Regions from separate parts of the Homo sapiens genome. Here all the other regions are linked to region 1. Evidence: promoter capture Hi-C in 16 types of primary human blood cells and fetal thymus (Javierre and others, 2016). All regions are on one chromosome and are shown on one strand. The core of a region is centred on a gene start or on the middle of the fragment in contact, and the rest is flanking DNA. Distances in the headings are between cores, read along the strand shown.

The links. Contacts are between HindIII fragments. The CHiCAGO score rates a contact against its expected background, and 5 or more counts as called.
Region 2: a contact is called between a fragment that was not itself captured here and the fragment with the promoter of STX2 in region 1, in 1 of 17 cell types (total B cells). The highest score is 5.7, in total B cells.
Region 3: a contact is called between a fragment that was not itself captured here and the fragment with the promoter of STX2 in region 1, in 1 of 17 cell types (monocytes). The highest score is 5.7, in monocytes.

Annotation. Positions count from the first base shown.
Region 1 is chr12:130,837,585-130,840,518 of GRCh38, reverse strand. It overlaps STX2 (syntaxin 2), which reads left to right and starts at 1,269. Exons shown (of 11, transcript NM_194356.4): 1 at 1,269-1,449. The coding sequence starts at 1,420. RefSeq lists silencers at 1,066-1,575, 1,646-1,705. The HindIII fragment of the contact is 18,553 bases long and covers 1-2,271 here.
Region 2 is chr12:131,885,193-131,888,127 of GRCh38, reverse strand. No RefSeq gene overlaps it. Among named protein-coding and RNA genes, the nearest start is that of ULK1, 8.0 kb to the left of the region's middle. The HindIII fragment of the contact is 6,226 bases long and covers 1-2,935 here.
Region 3 is chr12:132,077,730-132,080,670 of GRCh38, reverse strand. It overlaps EP400 (E1A binding protein p400), which reads right to left. Exons shown (of 53, transcript NM_015409.5): 53 at 211-2,941. Among named protein-coding and RNA genes, the nearest start is that of SNORA49, 48 kb to the right of the region's middle. The HindIII fragment of the contact is 497 bases long and covers 1,409-1,905 here.

The sequences.
Region 1 (2,934 bases), core at 20-2,519:
TCACACCTAGAACCAAGTCCAAAACGTCCTGTTTTTTAATGTGTAGCCTGTTGCTCTCAAGCAGATTTCTTAGCGCTGCCTTCTGGTCAGACCAAAGCCACCTCCTCCAGGAGGCAGTAAAGACTTTAACCTTGTTTAAAAACAAATCTGGCCTTGCCTTCTCCTCCTGGAAGGCAATCTTTGTTTGCCTGGGAGTCTTCGGCTAGCCAGAGAGTAACAGTGTGATTTATGGTGGGGGCTTAGGGTTACATGGATATCACTTAACCAAGAGGCTGAGATCAAGCATGAAAGCAATCAAACAATCAATCAATCATGCACATGCAATGGAGCCCAGTAAACGTTCTGCACACTGTGGCTCAAGTGAGCTTCCCTGGCTGGCAGTACTTCGTGTGTAAGGCCACACATCAGTGCAGGGCAAGTAATGAGGCCTGACTACACAGGGAGAGGACCACGGGAGGACCTTGAAGCTGCACGCCGTAATCCCCAGACTCCCCCTCTGCCCTTCTTCCTTGGCTGATGTTAATCCGTATCATTTTCCTGCTAAGAAACCATAGTTGTGAGTACAGTAGTTTTTAGTGTATTCTGTGATTCCTTCTAGCAAATTATGGAACTTGAAGGTGGTTTTGGAAACCGCCAGAATTTGCCGTTGGTGTCAGAGGTGATAATGGTCTTGGGGACTGTTCCCCCAACCTGGGTAGTTCACCTAAGCTCCTGCACCTTCATGACGACCTCTCTGCCAGTTCCGTGCCCATGCCCTTACTTTCTTTTCTCATCTATCATTTATTTGTCTGTGTCTGTATTGCCTGTTTCTCCTGCCAGAATGGTATCCCAGGGCTGGGCCTGCGGACGCTCTTCCCGTTACCGCCCCCTGCCGTGTTATGCTCCGTAAGCATCATGTGTGGTACACGATCTCTTCTCCTTCATTCACACCCGAGGCTGCGCGTGGACCCTTAAAGAGAAGGTTCGGCATATGTATTACCCAAAGCTGCACCCAGCACATTCCGGGAGCTTTGCTCTTTTGTCACTATTCGTTGAATGCTCTATATTTTGATAAATAAAACAATGAGTGTGAAAGCATAAAAGCAGATCAAGGGACAAACAGCACGTGTAGCGGAACTGCCAGCCTGGGGCTCGGCCGGACCCCGCCCCTCCCCGCCTAGGCCCCGCCCCCAGGCCCCGCCCCTCCGGGCTCCCGCTGGAAAGCGCTGCCGCCGTGTGGGTGGGTGCGGGGCGCGGCGCGGGCCGGGCATGCGCAGAGCGCGCGGGGCGCGGTTGCCGTGGCAGCGCCGGCTCCAGGGAGGGCTGCTGGCGCCGGGCCGGGACCGCGGGGCCTGAGGCGGAGACCGGAGAGCCCGAGGCCCGGCCGGAGGCAGCTCGGGACAGGCTTGAGCGGCGGGGCGCGCTGCCCGGCCGGCGGGGATGCGGGACCGGCTGCCAGACCTGACGGCGGTGAGCGGCAGCCGCGGGTAGCGGTTCAGGCCCGGCCGGGGCGGCGTCTGGAGGGCGGGCGGGGGCTCGGGGCGTCTTGGGCGGGGCTCCGGGAGGGTCCCCAGGGCGGGGATCTCCGGCGTTCTGGGGCGGGGGCTGCGGGCAGGGTCTCAGGGAGTCCTGAGCGGGGACTGCTGGTGGGGTCCCCAGGGCGGGGGTCCCGGGAGTCCTAGGGTGGGGGCTCCGGGCGGGGTCCCCAGGGCTTCCTGGGCGGAGTCCTCAGGGCGGGTTGGGGCAGGAGGAGGGAGCGGGGAAGGTCCCGGCCTCGACCCCCTCTTCGAGCGTGGCTCCCTGTCCGTCACTCCGCTTGGCGGATTGTATCTGGCGCTTACCCAGCCGGAGCCCACTGGCCTAACTGTGGTCCGCCCCACGGGGTCCCCGCAGCTGGCGTCAGCCCCGGGGAGCAGGCCGGGTCCTCTTGGTCGCTGCTTTATCCCTGGGGCTTCACAAAGGACTGTGCACCAAGCGGGAGGCAACAGATGGGTGTGAAATGTGGGCACCTTAGAGTGCTGGGTGCTTGGGGTGGGGCGAGCGCGAACAGCAGCTTGTGTCTGATCTCCCAGTAGTTTGCTTTGGAAACTGGGACCGTGTGTTGACTCTGAACGCACCTTACGCGCCCAGCAGCCGGGCACACAGCAAGTTACTGTTTACTTTAGCAAGGGAAAAGCAGGTCACTAAAAATTTTGGAAGGATTTCGATGCATTCTACACGTGTAAAGGTGACAGGACTGTGCATGGTGCAGTGACAGCGGAATGATAGTGATGGTCGTGCACTTTCCAAGCTTGTCTAACCCAGGACGGCTTAGGCCAGCAGAAGTAGTTATGACTTTTTCCCTTTACAATACAGGTACTAATTCATGCTACGTGTGTGCACAGATAGAGCCTCTGGTCTCTAAATTGTTGGCAGCCTCAGAACAGGGGTGCTAAGGCCCACAGCCCTACGACACCCACTGCATGTAATGAATTATTCTCTCTCCTCTGCTGCTAGAATGGAGCTGTTATGTACCCCCGAGTGGGAGAATAGAGAAAAGAGCCACTTAAATCATTATCTGTGTTCTGTGGTTCAGATGAGGAGCTCTGGTTGAGAAAGGCAATGATTTCATCCTTAGGATCATGGAAATTATGCTTTATATTCATTCCAAGGAAGTTTCTTCACGGTGATTTTTCCTTTTTTATTAATGGACAAATATTCCCTGTGTTCCGCAGATCAATATCATCTTAAACACAGCAAATTATAGTTGTGTTGTCTTGCCCGATGGATTATCTTTCAGTGCCGTGTAGTAGGAGCTCAGGTATTTATTTAATGAAGAAAAGCTGTGGCTCACTCCTGTAATCCCAGCAGTCTGGGAGATCAGGGTGGGGGCATCACTTGAGCCCAGGTATTGGAGACCAGCTTGGGCAACACAGGGAGACACTGTTTCTCGAAAAAAATTAAAAAATTAGCAGG
Region 2 (2,935 bases), core at 248-2,747, 1.0 Mb before region 1:
ACCCAGGCTGGAGTGCAGTGGCACAATCTCGGCTCACTGCAACCTCTGCCTCCCGGGTTCAAGCAATTCTCCTGCCTCAGCCTCCTGAGTACCTGGGATTACAGGCACAGGCCGCCACACCCGGCGAATCTTTTTTGTATTTTAGTAGAGACGGGGTTTCACTGTGTTGCCTAGGCTGGTGTTGAACTCCTGAGCTCAGGCAGTCTGCCTACCTTGGCCTCCCAAAGTGCTGGGATTACAGGCATGAGCCACCGTGCCCAGCCTACATTTTTTATTTTTAGTAGAGATGGGGTTTCACAATGTTGGCCAGGCTGGTCTCAGTGATCCTCCTGACCTCAAGTGATCCACCCGCCTTAGCCTCCCAAAGTGCTAGGATTACAGGCGTGAGCCACTGAACCCGGCCTGACTGTGGTTTTGATTTGCATTTCTCTAACCACTAGTGATGTTGAACATCTTTGTGAGGACTAAACTCATATTTTTTATCTTGCCCAAATTCTTATCTAAGGGGTCTAGAGAGTCATGCCCTACAAACCATAAATTCTCATCAGATGGGTTTTATTTAATCCTATATATTGTGACTTAATTTTTTTTTTTTTAGACAGAGTCTCTCTCTGTCACTCAGGCTGGAGTGGAGTGGCACAATCTCAGCTCACTGCAACTTCTGCCTCCCAGGTTCAAGTGATTCTCCTGCCTCAGCCTCCCAAGTAGCTGGGATTACAGGCACCTGCCACCACACCCAGCTAATTTTTGTATTGTTAGTAGAGACAGGGTTTCTCCATGTTGGTCAGGCTGGTCTCGAACTCTCAACCTCAGGTGATCCACCTGCCTCAGCCTCCCAAAGGGCTGGGATTACAGGCATGAGCCACCACGCCCCACCCAGTTTGTGTATTTTTAGTAGAGAGGGGGTTTCTCCATGTTGGCCAGGCTGGTCTCGAACTCCTGACCTCAGGTGATCTGCCACCTTGGCCTCCCAAAGTGCTGGGATTACAGGTGTGAGCCACTGCGCTGGTAGCCTTTTTTTTTTTTTTTTTGAGACTGAGTCTCGCTCTGTTGCCCAGGCTGCAGTGCAGTGGCGCGATCTCGGCTCACTGCAAGCTCCGCCTCCCAGGTTCACGCCATTCTCCTGCCTCAGCCTCCTGAGTAGCTGGGACTATAGGTACCTGCCACCATGCCTGGCTAATTTTTTTTTTTTTTTTGAGATGGAGTCTCCCTCTGTCACCCAGGCTGGAGTGCAGTGGCGCGATCTCAGCTCACTGCAAGCTCCGCCTCCCGGGTTCACACCATTCTCCTCCTCAGCCTCCCCAGTAGCCGGGACTACAGGCGCCTGCCACCACACCTGGCTAATTTTTTGTATTTTTTTTTTTTTTTTTTTTTTTGAGACGGAGTCTCGCTCTGTCGCCCAGGCTGGAGTGCAGTGGCGCGATCTCGGCTCACTGCAAGCTCCACCTCCCGGGTTCACGCCATTCTCCTGCCTCAGCCTCCCACGTAGCTGGGACTACAGGTGCCCGCCACCACGCCCGGCTAATTTTTTTGTATTTTTTAGTAGAGACGGGGTTTCACTGTGTTAGCTAGGATGGTCTCGATCTCCTGACCTCGTGATCCACCCGCCTTGGCCTCCCAAAGTGCTGGGATTGCAGGCGTGAGCCACCGCGCCCGGCCTGGTTAGCCATATTTTGAAGGCTTTGCAAAGCCCTCCTTTGTGGGGAAAAATTTGCATCTGTGAAGAATCTCTATTAACATAGCTAGATCTTTTTCTTTCAGGCCCTCCCAATCCTAAAGAGATTAACTTAAAGTCTAGCATAGGAATTATTTGTCACTTACTGTCTCTCTAAGGGCAGCCATTGTAAGACCTCAAAGAAACTTTAGCCTCCACAATCTTTTCTCTTAACCTGAACATTTCCTTTCTATGGATCCCAGGTTTTTAGACAAACTCAACCAATTGTCAACCAGAAAATGTTTAAATTTACCTATAGCCTGGAGGCCTGCCCACCACCCCTTTGAGTTGTCTCGCCCTTCTGGACCAAACAGTGTCTTTCTTTAATGTATTTGATTGATGTCTCCTGTCTCCCTAAAATGTATAAAACCAAGCTGCGCCCCGACCACCTTGGGCATGTGTTCCCGGGACCCCCTGAGGCTGTGTCACAGGTCAGGGTCACTCATGTTTGGCTCAGAATAAATCTCTTCAAATATTTTACAGATTTTGACTCTTTTTGTCAACATTTGCAGGTGCTTACTGGCCACTTGTGTATCTCCTTTGGAGAAATGCCTATTCAAGTGCTTTGCCCATTTTGTAATCTGGTGGCTTGATTTTTTGCTGTTGAGTTGTGGGAGTTGGTTATGTATTCTGAATGTTAACTGCCTGCTTTTGTAAATAAAGTTTTCCTGAAGCCATGGTCTGCGTTTATTGGTTGTTTCTGCCTTCTTTAGTGCTACTGACATCGCCTTTGTAAAATTATGACTGAGACAGTGAAAGATCTAACTTAACCGACTCCATCTTCCTTCTAACCTCCAAGCTGTCTTTGTTCATTCCTGGGCGTAGGCTGAACTAACTTTGGGAGAAACTTAGCTTGTAGTTTACAGTTTAAACAAAGACGGTAACAGCCCTTTCCCAAAGCAAACCTCCTTCTTGCCTAACATTAGCCACAGGATTAGAAATTACGGTTTAGGAGCCATGCAGCTGGAGGCTACAAGATTCTGACCCTCCCTAAACTGCTCCTAAGATCAGCGCTTGAGATATTTTGCAGACCCTGCACTTGATGGATCAGCTGGCACCACCCAGATGGATAAACAGGCTCGTCAGATCTTGTGGCCCCCACCCAGGAACTGACTCAGTGCAAGAGGAAAGACAGCTTTGACTTGCTATGATTTCATCTCTGACCAATCAGCATCCTGGCTCACTGGCTTCCCCCCACCAACCAAGTTATCCTTAAAAACT
Region 3 (2,941 bases), core at 408-2,907, 1.2 Mb before region 1:
TCCACGTGCGGCTTTGGGAAGCGGCTGCCTGGTGGACTTGGTGAATGTGATTTCTGTTCCTTCCAGGTCCTTCTATGGCCACGGAAGAGTGGGTGAGGGGAACACCTCTGGCTCCAACATTACTTGTTGGTTTTTTCTTCACACAAATGAAAAATTCAGCATCTCATTTAACTTAAATACCAGTTTTCTATGAAAGACAAAATGAAAAAATATATAAAAAGGTCACTTTATTTTGCCTTTTGTTTGGTATGCTATCAATGCCCTTTAAAATCCTACTATTCAAGTACAAATGCTGATGTTTACAAAGTATTTACAATTTTAGTCTTGTTCCTTTCTATCTTAAAACACAACAGCTAACTGGTTACAACAGTTAACAAAATAATAATAATAAAGGTCACAAAAAGAGAAACCCCTGTCTTATCAGGCACCAAATCTGAACAAGGGCTTGGATCCAACCTTCTGCTTCCCGCCAGGTGCTTTAAAAACAGTCTGGCTAACTGTTTTTATCATCAGAATAAACGTCTTTCTTTAAAGAATAGCAGGGCAACTGTTTCCCAGGGTCGCCAATTAGAGTCTGACAGTGTTCGGGCTGCTGCCTTTATAGTCTGTGTTCTCAAAGTTTCCAACTCTTACTTGCCGTATTGGAATGAACCCAGATTCACAAGGGGAAGGCCTAGACAACAGCTTCCTGAACGCGTACTTAATTCTTAGGTTAGAAACTTTAACCTTTAAAAGGGAAGGCCAAGAAAATAACACACTAAAAGGAGAGTTTTTACGTACACGACTAAATGAATTTAACTCAGGTCAACGGTAGCATCTAGAAGTTACTAAATTGAGTGCTACGAGTAAAAATATGTCCGTGTTTTGTATTAGGGAACAGCCAAAGGAAACACACTTGAGAGACAGGAGACCCTCACTGACGTGAGATCGGGGCGGAAACTCCACATTGCAAATATTCAGAATCCCATTAAGCTCTCCAAAAAAGCATTTGAGAGATGGTGTTAAATTCTCTTGTAGTGTTTTAGATTAATAGAGCGCTTTTACTTAGACAGTTATGTCTAGGATATTCTAAAATAAGTGCACTCAACATTTTATCTTCAACTATAAGGAGACTACCAAGATTTGGGAAAGACAAAAAAAATGAACAGGGCACACAAATTAAAACAAATGACAAAGGCAGAATTCCTAGATACTTCAGTTCTATCACATCTGCGGATGAGGAGGAGTAAAAGTTTCCACTGGGAGCCAGATGTGAGGCGCACACAGCGGCCCTCCCTCCGGCAAGCTGCGCTCTCACGGCACGTGCCAAGCCAGGGAGAACGGGTTGGTTAGAACAAACAGATTCCAGTCCTCTGCTTTGGTATGTTCAACTAACTAAAAGATTAATTTCTTCTGTTTCTTCAAAGCTTGGTTTTTACTTTTCTCCACATTTCTTATCAAGAGCTCAAGTGAGCTCCCCAGTTGATTTCACTGACTCCTGCTGTATCGCTGTCCACAGAAACCTGTGGGACAGAATACCTTCCTCAATGTCACTTAAAGTGAGAGAATGGGGAGGAAGCAGATGAAATACAATTTAAAAACAGAAAATCTTTATTGTGCCATAACTGATTTTTAGTATACAAAAAACCTAATATAACCTAATTTCCTGGACCAAATAATGTAAAATAGGCCAAAATCAAGCCACAGCACAAAGGATACTATTGGATATGGACCTTTTTGCTTTGGTGAAAACTTCAAAGTAAGGAGACACTGTCAATCAATTCCACTAAAATTGCATTTATTTTCCTGTCATAGTAAAAAAAGGAAAAACAGTAGCAAATACTGGGCTTCGTTTTCCCCCTCAACGGCACGCCTTCCACAACAGCACAGGTGGTTCTCTGCTTCACTGGCAGAACCACACAAGCTTATCCTAGAGAAAATCTGCTGTCGTAAGTCCACAAGGAAGAGTTGACTGGGCCCACCGCTATAGCCAATACTTCCAGAATCACCAGCCCACCTTCGTCAAAGGGCTGACTGTGGCAGCAAGGGGTGTCTGTCACATTCGTCCTGGCTCACTGAGCCCAGGCCTCATCGTACCCTCAGCTGTGACATCTGTACTACCATTGCCTCTGCGTGGTCCTCTGGGCCTCACGCCAGCCATGGCAGAGTGTCCCAAAGGTTCTCAGGAGCTGTTTAACACACTATGTCAAATACCAGCTTCCCCCGAAAACTGGAGATGCGTCTTGAGTGCACTGAGTTGGGCATCAGTCCCAGAAGTTTCCATTAAATGAAAGCGAATCCCATTGCAGGGTAGGGCCTGGGGGAGGCCACTGTTGGCTGCTCTTTGGAATAACAATGCAATGACTGATCATTTCCCTTGAACACAGGCCAGGAACGTGCCTTGTGTGTTTAGGTGGGTGTCAGAACATTTCTCTTAAAAGTTAAGTCATATTTTAGGAGGGAAGGAAGGAACCATATTGCCTTTCTTTGGAATGGAAAACCCATCTCGGATGATTGACTTTAGACAGGCCTTCCCCTCTGCGAAGACCACGAGGCATTTTTCAGTAAGGTATAAAGAACTAAACTCTGGCAGACACTGTGGAAGCCCACGCCTTATCTTTAGAAAGTCCATTGTATGCTCCTCACACACGGCAGACGGCTTCTGTGGCGTGCAAAGCACTACATGCTCACAAAGAAATTCTAAATGGCTTTCAGAACACAGTACTATGGCTCTAGGGGACGGGTGCGGGTGGGGACTGAAAGGTGAAATGATTTAGAGGAAGCCATGTTGTCACTTTTTCCATGAGCCACGTAGTACAGAGAACGCGGCACTCCATAAGGACCATTTGTCCTGCAGTGTGGGATGCATTTTAATAAAATGATTACACTATTTTGTTTCAATTATATCTTTCCCAGTGCTGAATCTCTTGCGTGACATGGTCCCAAGGTTCACTAATAAAGC